Linked DNA regions of Homo sapiens: all the other regions are linked to region 2. Evidence: promoter capture Hi-C in 16 types of primary human blood cells and fetal thymus (Javierre and others, 2016). All regions are on one chromosome and are shown on one strand. The core of a region is centred on a gene start or on the middle of the fragment in contact, and the rest is flanking DNA. Distances in the headings are between cores, read along the strand shown.

Region 1 (4,052 bases), core at 595-3,094, 1.7 Mb before region 2:
GACTTTAAAAGATGGTACTGGTTTCTAACAACTTACGAGTATATAGGGTATTTAAAAGATGGGAGAGATTGAAGAAAGACAAAGGTTTAAAGGTCATAGCCTTCGAGCATAAGAGGCATATGAATGGTGTCTTGGCCTTAACTCCCAATTATACGAACTTCTGTTTTAGCTGAATAGGCCAGTGCCTCGTGCCTTGATATTTCGGCAAATCTATTAGTGGTTCCTTAAGCATAGGGAACTTTGTACTTTATGCTCTGTCGCCATAATAATGTATTTATAGAATTAAACATTCTCAAATTAGGGTCTTGTTAAACTGACTTTTTCTTTCAGAAAGTAGCTACTTAAATTCTGTTACAGCTACAAAAGATCCATCAAGTGCTGACTGCTTAAACTGAAGAAGGTGTCCAGGGCCTTAATTCTGCAAACATTTCCTGTTGTTAGAAAGTATGATGCTTGAACAGCGATCTCAGTGTATTTTATGTTTTAAAGGGGGTAACGTTTGGTGTGTTTAAGAGAGCTGATGTGTTTTGGATGAGACTAAAGTTGATCCTTGGTTTTACATTAAGATGAACCTGGGTCCATGTGTCTGCTTAAAGAATGTAAATTGGCATACTTGATAGGAGGATAAAGCTTTGTAGGAATTAGAAAAGATCATTCTCTTTTTTGTTGCAGAAGCAGTATAGTATAGTAGTTAGAGCATGGGCCCTGGAGCCAGGCTGCTTGGTGTCTTCCTTTATTTATTTATTTATTTAATTATAAAAAGTAAATATAAAGTGAGCTATGTTGACCAGGTTCGTCTTGAACTCCTGGCCTCAAGCAATCCTCCTGCCTCAGCCTCCCAAAGTGCTGGGATTACAGGCATGAGCCACCACAACCTGGCCTGCTTGGGTTTTTCTATCTTGGCTCTGCCACCTAGCTGTGGGTCCTTGGACAAGTTACTTCATCTCTCTGTGCCTCAGGTTTTTCAAATGTAAAATTGGGATAATTGGATCTGTCTCATAGGGTTGTGAAAATTAATGAGTTAATGCTCTTAGAAGAGTACCTCATATGTAATAAGCACGCAACTGTTAATTATTGTTAATGTAGAAGTTAATTCTGTGTATAAATCAGATACACTGTGGTCAAAGATTTGTGTGTATTTGTAAGAAAAGAGGAGAATGGAGAATCTATTTTTAAGTGGTCCTATGTGTGAATGCTGGGTTCTTTTATTCCTCTTTTTCTCTGGACACTTGGCAGTCAGGAAGCTTTGTTCTACCAACATAGTTTTGTTGCTGTGAATGTCTCACACCAACCGGATGATTTTTCCAATTGTATCAAACAACTCTATTTTCAGGGAGGAGTAAGCTGAAGTGAAAACAGGCAAGGAGCAAAGTTCTTGTTGACATACAAATGCTTTCTGTGGATGAGTAAAGAAAAAAGTAGCCCATAAAGTTATTTTTGCTTGAATTATTGCGCATGGAATGTTTAAAACATGCTTATTGATAGGTTCTGGACAAGAGCCTTCCCAATGCCAACCTAGGGCTATCACACAACCAAATCAGATGCAGTGTGACTAGAAACGATGCCATGGTTTTAGTACCTAACCACTTCTTCACCACTCTGGGAGGGACCTAGTCTCTTGATCAAATTAACCTTAGCTCTGGGGTGTAAAAAAACCTTCTGACTGCTGCGTAAAAGCCAGATGTTTAAAGTGCTTTCCAACAAGTACTCCAAGAAGATCACATTAATAGGGAATAAAGTCTGGGCGCGGTGGCTCACACCTGTAATCCCAGCACTTTGGGAGGCCGAGGCAGGTGGATCACCTGAGGTCAGGAGTTCAAGACCAGCCTGGCCAACATGGTGAAACCCTGTCTCTACTAAAAATATAAAAATTAGCCAGGTGTGGTGGTGGGAAAAAAGAGAATAAAGGGATAAATGTTAGTAATGTATTTTTTTTTTTGAGACAGAGTCTTGCTCTGTCACCCAGGCTAGAGTGCAGTGGTGTGATCTCAGCTCACTGTAACCTCTGCCTCCCTAGTTCAAGCGATTGTCCTGCTTCAGCCTCCCAAAGTGCTGGGATTACAGGCATGCACCACCACGTCTGGCTAACTTTTGTATTTTTAGTAGAGACGGGGTTTCACCATGTTGACCAGGCTGGTCTCAAACTCCTGACCTCCGGTGATCCACCTGCCTTGGCCTCCCAAAGTGCTGGGATTACAGGCGTGAGCCACTGCCCCCGGCCTAGTATGTACTTCTCAACCATGTTGTTTTAACCCTGTCTTCCCTTTTAGAAACCATCATTTGTTCTTGGCGATGGGAACTAATGATGGAAAGCCTGAATTGCTCCTCCAAGGTGACTGGGTTTTCTTTATGGCACCAAATAACCTTTCCATTCCTTCTACTCATCACTGATTGGATTTGGGAGTGTGAAGTGAGAGGAAATGGGTCATTTGACAACTTTGGTGGAAAGCTTCTCAGAATAAAGATGTCAGAAATATTGGGAATGAAATTAATAATTATAAAACTGTTCCATCTTATCACTGGGTTAGTCTGAGTCTCTCTTACTGCAACTTACTAGGCATGATAACCTAGCCTCAGATCCTGTGTGATGGGGTCGACAGGCTAATCCCACTGTGATATGGCATTTGATGGACATTTATTTCCTTGTACTTTTTTAAAAAAAAGTAGAGTTAGTTCAGTTCACTGAATAACCAAAGGATTTCTGATCTCTTGCCCTAAATATTTTATTCTTCTCCTGTTTGTGAATTTTTTATTCTTCTAGACTTCCTTTTATCCCAGCAGTCCCTGAAAAAAGACAGGAATGAAAAGAAACGCTGATCCAACCTTTCCGTGACTATGAAAGAGGCCATTACTATGAGGTGCAGTGCTCCGGTGGGGAGGGAGGCCTGCTTCCCAGGATTCCTGGCACTCTTTCCAGTAATGAGCAGTTTGTCTCTCAGCCTTTGAACCATTGTTCAAATTTAAAATTCAACCCAGTGGAAAGCCTTGGGAGGAAAAAACATAGAAGGAGAGTTGATGTTAGGAATCACTGTGATCTTAACACATGCCCTTGGAGTTTTTCAGTAATAATTCTTAAGGGTACGATAGGGAACAAATGTGGAAGAGCAGAAAGTGTGAAAGGATACGCACATCTAGCTGAATGCCTCCTTCCTGATTCAAACACAGTTTTTCCCAATGCCTGCTACCACTGCTCCCTCCCGCAGTGGGAATGGGGGTTTTAAAATAAAATCTCTCTCTAGCAATTGCTGTCTCCCAGAGGAATACAGCCCAAAGCTCTTTGCTGGACTACAGCCTGGGGTTTATCTCAGACCTCTGGAATCCTTCAGGCAGGGAAGGAGAAACCTCCAGGGACTGCATTCCTGAAAGGGCCTCTCCTCTTTCCTCTCCAGACCAGCAGCAGCCTCTATCACCGGATGCTGCCCACTTATGGGCAGGTGAAATAGAGTATTGGCTATCAGCTTTTGGAAGCTGCAGGAAGAAGGGCTGGTACCCAGCACTGCTACTGAGCATCTCTAGCAGGTGATTCTTTTAGGGGACTGGCATAGAGCTGGCCTGGTGTATTATATTAGTCCGTTTTCACACCACTATAAAGAAATACCCAAGACTGGGTAACTGACAAAAGAGATTTAATTGGCTCACAGTTCGCATGTCTGGGGAAGCCTCAGGAAACTTACAATCATGGTGGAAGGGGAAGCGGGCACGTCTTACATGGCAGCAGGTGAGGGCACGTGTAAGCGCGGGAAAAACTACCATTTATAAAACTATCATGGGAACAGCATGGGGGAACCACCCCATAATCCAATTACTTCTCTCCCCTGACACTGGGGATTACAACTTGAGATTTGGGTGGGGACATAGAGGCAAACCGTTATCATCTGGGATATTTGCAGTAAATCTACTTTTTATGTAATAAAGTTTTCTGGGACCTGGTCACAAGAAGCCTCTAGGCCTGTGTGGTAAGCCATATCCCTAACTTACAGGATGGTGAGACAGCTGCCCCTTTTCCATCCATTTAGCACCAAGGCAGTCCTGGTCCCAGCCCTCTGCTTTTT
Region 2 (3,928 bases), core at 737-3,236:
ATCAGAAGGGGGTTAGAGGCCTGCAGTTCAGCACTGAGCCTTTTGTTGCCTCTCTTCTTCTAAGCCCTACTCATTGTCTGATATTTAGCTTGGCTGTGACCTTCCCCAGTAAGACGTTTCTGGAACACCCTCCTGCCTCTTCACACACACACACACACACACACACACACACACCACCCCCTTCAGCCCAGATTAGAGCTCAGTGTTCCTGTAATATCTCTGTACAGTCTATCACTGCATTTACCATATTTTAAAACAACGTCTCCCCAACACTTCACAGTATAGGCTCTGAGTTTCATAACGGCACAGAGTGGATACTGTAAGAATGCAGTGAGACTCTCCCTACTCCATGCTCCTTTCTTCCATCTTTTGTTCCACAGATGTCAGCCCTACATCAGTCTGCAGGCTGCTCCTGTCTGCTCCAAATCCCTCCCCCAGTAAGTTTCTTGCACATCTAATCCCATCTTAGCATCTGCTTCTTGGTAGACACTAACAAATTATTATAAGGAATTACTTTGCACTACCATATTTATACAAAAAGTAGTTAGTTCATGCATTTAGAATATTGGTTTGTTGGTTGACAATGTTAAGCCTAATGACCTATACCTTTTGGGTACTGACATACTTAATTTTGCACTTATTAAACTGTGACTTTCCAAAAAAAAAAAAAACTTTCATTGTACCATTAGGATATAATATTCTTGTTAATATTACAAAAACCAAACCAAAACAAAAACCATGCTGCAGCCTTAGGAGAACTTGCTTCATGTAACTAAGGGTTTTTCTTTTTCTTTTCTTTTTGTATTTTTTTTTCCTGTAGGATAACATAGTGTTAAAAGCACAAGCTTCTGGACTACTTGAAATCAAACCACAGCTTAACCAGCTCTATGGCTTTTGGCAAATTACTTCAACTCTTTAAACCTGTTTCTGATCTGTAAAATGGAATGATCCTTGCTCATCTGTAATATATACATTTATAAAACAGGACCCACCAATGGGATTATTTTATGAATTAAATGTTAAAACAGCTAGAACGGTGCAGGCTGAGTAAGCACTGAACACAGTACTTATTAGCTATTATCTCTGGTGCTCTGTGCAACGAAAGAACTATTAGAATACATTTAAAAGCACTTTGCAAACTAGAAAGCCCTTTGAACAATTTAGTTTCTCTAAATGTAATAATAAGCATCAGCCATCGCCTTTTATGGAAAATTGAGGTGGAATCACATCAGCAAGAGAAAACTGAGGACTTGTCTCTGGCTCTGTTCCTGATTTATTCACACAGTACATGATCCTAGAATAAGACTCCTGATACTCCTGAAAGTAGAGGCGGTTGGGTTAAAAATAATTTTCCCTTTCAAAACTCTTTCAAATGTTCTCCAAAAGAAGCCAGGAAAGCTCCCGTATGAGTAGATAATTCACTTTAAAATTCGCTCATCTCTCTTTAACACGAGAGTCTGCAGGGCTGGTGCAGCGGCGTCAACCCGAAGAGACCTGAACGCCGATGGGCAGTTGGGATTCTCCGTACGCCTCGGAAACAGCAGCCCAAACCTCACAACGCAGAACCACGAGATAGTGGGGATTGCAGAGCCCTGCGCAAGAGAAGGAAAATTAAGACGCAGCGGAGCCCAGGAGGTGCCCGCACGCGGGAAGGACTGGCGTGCAGACGAGGCAGGGGGAGGTTTGCACTCGGCGTGGCGCGGGTGAGCCGCGTGCTCTCGGGCACCCGGCCGCCAGTTCGGATGCTTCCGATCCTCGGGGAGCCGGGGCGCTGCGCCGGAGTCACTTCAGCCCATGTTGTTCAGGTGACACCCGGGGAAGAGCAGACTCCAGTGTGCAAAACGTTTCGGGGTTTCCGGGCCAGCGGTTCCGGGCGCGCCTCGCGGGCGGCGGCGCAGAACTACAACCCCCAGGCTCCCTGGCGTGGCGGCACGTGGGCCCGAGCCGGGCGGCCGCGGATATAAAGCGCGGCGGCGGCTGCCGGGCGGAGCGGCTGCACGGACAAGAGCGGAGGCCTGGGTGAGCGCGGCCCGCGACGGCACGGGCTAGGACAGACGGACGCAGACGGCCCGACGACCTGGGCGTTCGGGCGGAGGGGCGCTGGGGCCTGACTCGCGGGTGGGTGAGACGTTGACGGACCCGGAGGAAAGAGGGAAGGCAGATACGCTGGGAAACGGATCTGGGGAAGGTGTGAATGCGAAAAGTGTAGGGACAGACGGGGGCAGAAGAACTTACTCCCCCGGATTGTTTGCAGACAGCATATCTGCCGGGTCTCCAAAGGTCCTTTCCTCAAAATAGAGTTAGCAATTGAGCAGAAGAGAGCTTAAAGTTAAACCTGATACATCCCCCCTTCACTTGAGGAGAAATTGGTGGTTTTCTGCTTTTTTAAAAATCCCTATTTGTATCTCCTCTTCTCCGAGTACCTGTCCCTCAAGATATTCTCTGCCCAGAGGTACATTCTGCCCTCACTTTCTGTCTCTTAAAAAAACAACTTTGCCATTTAAAAAAGAATTTGACTTAGGCAGCTTTAATTCTTTGCACTGAGTGTTCTTATCTGTGGATGGAGGTATAAGATTTCAAGAGTAATACCCCCTCCCAATGTTTCAGTAATAATCTAAATTCACATTAAGCCTTAGGCTGGAGAACATTTGAGCTATTCGCTTTAGCTACGAGCTCTGAAAACTTCAAAGCATAACATTCCCAAGTTTATCTAAAACTTGAATCTTAAAAATAATGATAATTATCTGTTATGCTTCAAAGCATAACATTCCCAAGTTTATTAAAAACTTGAATCTTAAAAATACTGATCATTCTCTGTTAAAGTCTTTTGTTGTTGTTGTTGTTGTTGTTGTTGTTGTTGTTGTTGTTGTTTTTGAGACGGAGTCTCGCTCTTGTCGCCCAGGCCGGACTGCAGTGGCGCTATCTCGGCTCACTGCAAGCTCCACCTCCCAGGTTCACGCCATTCTCCTGCCTCAGCCTCCCGAGTAGCTGGGACTACAGGCTCCCGCCACCACGCCCGGCTAATTTTGTATTTTTAGTAGAGACGGGGTTTGGCCATGTTGGCCAGGCTGGTCTCGAACTCCTGACCTCAGGTGATCCGCCCACCTCGGCCTCCCAAAGTGCTGGGATTACAGGCTTGAGCCACCGCGCCCGGCCAAAGTCGTTTTTATCCCATTTCTTCCTGTAGGCGTTTCAAAGTTTGCAAAGGCAGCAAACTTTTACGTAGTGTAGTTATCTGTGCAAAGAAATTTTCCAAGCTGCCATTGCCCCCAGATGGCAGACAGTCTAGGAGAGGAGCCAAAACCACCCTGCTTAATAACTCTGATGTAAGGTTTTTAATGAAAAGCCACTGTTTGGGGGAATTCTGAGGTTTAAGAAATTATTTTCGGCTGGGGTATCAGGAAATCCCCTGGTTTTTAAAATGAGAGGTTTTTTGGTTTTTGTTTGTTTTTGTTTTTAAGCTATACCTGCTGGAATGGATAAAGTGAGCTTTAAAAGTTGATCAGACCGAAGAGATTGAAGTGAGAGAACCACAGGAACAAAGGCAAGCAGACAGACAGTGAAAGGTAGATAGGAGGAACAGCAAACAGTTTGTTCAGCTGGGCAAGTATAGTGCAGGCACGAAGATTTCAATAGAGACCCAGACCCCAGGGAGCTGGTTCTTTAGCCTACTGGCATTTTCTAAACAGGACAAAGACAAGACCAGAAATGCTGGTGTTACTGGAAGATTAATCTGACAGCTGGTGTGGATTGAAGAAGAGAAGAGGGATTAGGACAGTGATTCCTAACCCCTATCCTACACTCCCAACGGCCCCTTGTTTTGAATTTTTGAACTAATCAAACTACATTTGTGGTAATTAGTTTTATTTCTTTCCATTAAAGACATATAAAACTGCCAATTTGAGCTTCTGATGATTCTAAGAACATC
Region 3 (4,049 bases), core at 108-2,607, 2.0 Mb after region 2:
TCAAAGGGCACATGCCAAGAACAGGAAAGAATGTATGCGCTTTAAGCAAGTTCTATGTACTATCTGGAGAACAAGTTCTGAGTTACAGGCTAAGTGGATTTTAGGAGGGCAATTTCAATTTAGGCAGGAAATAAATAATAATGATAGTAGTAGTCGTTATCAGTAGCAGCAGTAAATTCTTACATCATGCTTCCTATTTGCCAGATATTAGTTCTAAGCACTTTCATTATATTAACTTGCTTAATCCTTCTAACAACATTGTGAGGCTGGCAAACCATTGTCTTCATTTTGCAGAGATGAAGAAACAGGCTCAGGAAGACTAGGTAACTTTCCCATTGTAACCCAGATGAGAGGTGGCAGAGCCATCTCAGGGTGTCCTGCTCCAAGTCCAGAGTTCTTGCTCTTAATAATACTATATTGCTTGTCTTTGGAAAACACCACTGCTTTCCTGGGAAGCAAGAAGGTTAAAGGAATTGTTCTACTGTAGACCAGACTGGAGAGTAGTATTAGAAAGAACTAGTGAGAAATGAGGAAAAACTTTCAACATTTATTAAAAGCCTGCCATGTACCAGGCATTTTATATTTTAGGATAGTAGGCAACTGACTACAAAAAAGTAAATGACTTACAGGCCCTGAAATTCACCTTAAACTTGTATTTTTAATTAAGTTTATTATTTCTTTGCATTTAAACACAAAGATATATCACAATGATCAAATGCAAAAAAAAAAAAACATTATTTTACTTCATCTTCACAAGAATTCAATTCAGTTCTTTCAAAAAAATTTGCTAAGCATTTATGTACCAGGCACAAGACATATAAAAAAGGTGAATGTATTAAAAATTAAAGAAATTGGTTCCTGTTCTTTAAAAAAAAATCTATAGTCTACAATAACTCTTTGCAATTATTCTCATTTTACATAGAAAGACACTGCTCAGATGGGTTAAATAACCTGTTTAGGGTCCAACCTGTAAATAGCTGAGACAGGATTTGAACTCAAGCCCTTCTAACTCCAAAACCTATACACTTTTACCCTACAGAAAGCTAAAAGTGTTTCTGAGTGTAGGGACCGGAAAAAAATTTCCAACTGACTTCAAATAACAAATACAAGGCAACTGTATTCTCGTTAATATTTTAGAACTGTGTCATGTTAGTTGAGAACTTGAAAAGAGGAAGTGTAAATTCTAGACTAAATCTTGGGTTACAGACCTCACACAGATTGAATATAGAAGAAGTACACAGCAAGAGTCACTCACATTGTAAAATAGTTGAACATTTTAAAATACATATTACAGTGGACACGTATGGTCCCACTGGAAATATATAAGACAATGTTACTTTCAAGAGTTCCCAGTCTTTGAAGCTGAAATCCTTCTCTCTTAAATCTTATTAAGTAGTTAATTGTAGCAGAAAGTTACTCAGTTAGGTCCCAATAGGCACAGGCCAGAAAGTCCTCTGAAAGCTGCCCTCAGTACCTGCACTGTCACAAACCTACTAAGTGTATTCTATAGTTAGAAAAAATGTATTGATATAACTTTCTGCCATTGATATAACTGTTCTACCTAAAAAGAACAAGATATTAAAGATACCATGCTTTATAAAGAGATGATCCTATTCATTGTGAGAAACTGAACTTATCCAGCTATATGCTATTTTATTTAACTTTGGAACTGCATTCATCAGTACGCATTTATGAGATGGCTAAGGTCTGAGGGTATAGGATGGAACCACTTGGCCATCTCAAAATCATTAGCCTAGATTTGTTAAATTATGCTTTGCCCAAACTGAATTAACCAGGGATAAATGATTTTGAAAGAAATAAGGGTTGACATGTGGGTGACAAAAAAAAATTAATTAAAAAACAGAACGGGTGTAATGGCTCACACCTGTAATCCCAACACTTTGGGAGGCAGAGGTGGGCAGATCACTTGAAGTCAGAAGTTCGAGACCAGCCTGGCCAACATGGTGAAACCCCATCTCTACCAAAAATACAAAAATTAGCCAGGCATGGTGGCACACACCTGTAATCCCAGCTACTCAGGAGGCTGAGGCAGGAGAATCACTTGAACCTGGGAGGTGGTGGCTGCAGTGAGCTGAGATAGTGCCGCTATACTCCACAGCCTGGGCGACAGAGCACAACTCCGTCTCAAAAAAAAAAACAAAAAACAAAAAACAAAAAAAACATTAAGGGAATGACTGAGGTCTTGAGAAATAAATTTGAAACTGTGTTTTTAATGTTGAAATGTATCCAAAAAAAATCATATCCTAAAAACATTAAGAACTCAAAATGTGCTCTCTCCAAATTTACAATATAAAAGAGAACGAGGACTGTCAAATATAAAACATGTTTTAAAACTAAAAATGCATAAATTACATATATTTAGATGTTCATAGATAACAATGATGTTAGTGTATGAAGATATTTGGTTAATATATGATAAAAAATGGATTCACAGAATCAGTTGAAAAATATTTTAAGCAGAACTAAAGCTAGTCCTCTGCCAAACTTTCCCAACTACATTTTATACGTTGTAATCATAGAAGAAAATCTGCTGACATATTTTAAAATGTAAAAACAAGGTTATAAGGGATAAGTTTCAGGATAATATGCTTAAACTCTTTTCAAATTACAATTTATGTGCAAAATTTTTTTTGAATTCCAGAATTTGCTATTTCATCTACGTTGTTGCACAACAGATCTCCAGAACTTTTCATCTTGTAAAACTGAAACTGCTATTTAATCTTAAGTGAGCCCTAAAACATTTTTAAATAATATGAATCAGCAAACTAAAAAGCAAAATATATTCAGTGCAGAGTCCATGAGGATACAATTAGGACAGAGGCTAAGTAACAATTTCTCTTTTAAGCAATGGTTTTCTTCAGTGTATAAATATTGTAAACATTTTTTTAAATTAAGAGAATAATCTCCCTTAAGACCAGAGATAACATCTTCATGTATATATCCACAATATCTAGCTATATAAAGCACTCAATGATAATTGTTGATGGCACCCAAGGAAGCTGTTTAAATAATGAAGTTTCATAATCTAATTTCAATTTATTCTTATCTGTTCAATAAACTGGTTCCCTAAAAACCACTACCAGAAAGACTATTTTTGCCCTGTTTTTTAAAAACTTCCTTTTAAAAAATGTAATTGTATTGTAGGTTTCAAAATTCCCAGTTGACTGTGCTCACATAATAATCAACTCACATAAATGGTAGGTAAAGATAAGCTTCCTACTTACCATATAGTTACCATAAGCATGATCAAACATTTCCAGTACTTGATTCCTAATTTTAAAAGAGCAGAAATGGAAAAAAAAAAAAAAAAAGGTAAGTATATTCTATTTATTATCTTTCAAAAAGTTAATTCTTCCTCATAAAAAATATACCAATAAAAACAAAAGAAAAATTTAGGTAGAAAGGGACATAAACAGAATCAGAAACTACAACAGCTAGCAGACAAGCTTTCATGAACTCACCACACAGAGCTGAGCCAAACTTTAATGATTACTAGTAATTTATGTACAATTCATCTTATAATTTTTCCTAAGAAAACTGATGAATGATAGATGCCATCATCAGAGAAGGAAATCTGATGCAGAAAAACAATGACCTCTTAACACAATTATTTAACGTATCTGTCTTGAAGCGGGGGTTTTGCTGGACAGCCCTTTAAAAAAACCATTATTATTGCCATTTATTGCTTCCCCTATATGTTCTACTAAGAGAGAGGTACACAGGTGTGTAGTGACATGAAATAACAACGCTTTATGAAGCCTCTGCCTTTGCACTTACATTGAATAAACCACTAATGCCTAGTTTAAGTACATATTTATTAATGTTTGTCATATTTTCAAAAGATACTTTTTATGATGTGCTCTACTCTAAAAAAACTGTCAAAAATCAAATAAATAGTATTCACTTCCAAAATGAGAAAACTAATGCTCAAAAAGAGAGTTGTGTGTTTTGGCGAATTCTGTTTCACAAAATCTCCGTAACCACTGTTTAAAATGGAGATGTCTGATCACTACACCAGAATTTTACTA

The links. Contacts are between HindIII fragments. The CHiCAGO score rates a contact against its expected background, and 5 or more counts as called.
Region 1: a fragment that was not itself captured here is called in contact with the fragment with the promoter of NPL in region 2 in 1 of 17 cell types (M2 macrophages); the score reaches 6.9 in M2 macrophages.
Region 3: a contact is called between a fragment that was not itself captured here and the fragment with the promoter of NPL in region 2, in 1 of 17 cell types (monocytes). The highest score is 5.5, in monocytes.

The regions. Positions count from the first base shown.
Region 1 is chr1:181,091,720-181,095,771 of GRCh38, forward strand. IER5 (immediate early response 5) reads left to right here. Exons shown (of 1, transcript NM_016545.5): 1 at 1-1,181. Among named protein-coding and RNA genes, the nearest start is that of IER5, 5.0 kb to the left of the region's middle. The HindIII fragment of the contact is 1,205 bases long and covers 1,243-2,447 here.
Region 2 is chr1:182,787,787-182,791,714 of GRCh38, forward strand. It overlaps NPL (N-acetylneuraminate pyruvate lyase), which reads left to right and starts at 1,987. Exons shown (of 13, transcript NM_030769.3): 1 at 1,987-2,019. RefSeq lists an enhancer at 1,640-2,140. The HindIII fragment of the contact is 6,627 bases long and covers 844-3,928 here.
Region 3 is chr1:184,746,302-184,750,350 of GRCh38, forward strand. EDEM3 (ER degradation enhancing alpha-mannosidase like protein 3) reads right to left here. Exons shown (of 20, transcript NM_025191.4): 2 at 3,246-3,291. Among named protein-coding and RNA genes, the nearest start is that of EDEM3, 6.5 kb to the right of the region's middle. The HindIII fragment of the contact is 3,747 bases long and covers 1-3,231 here.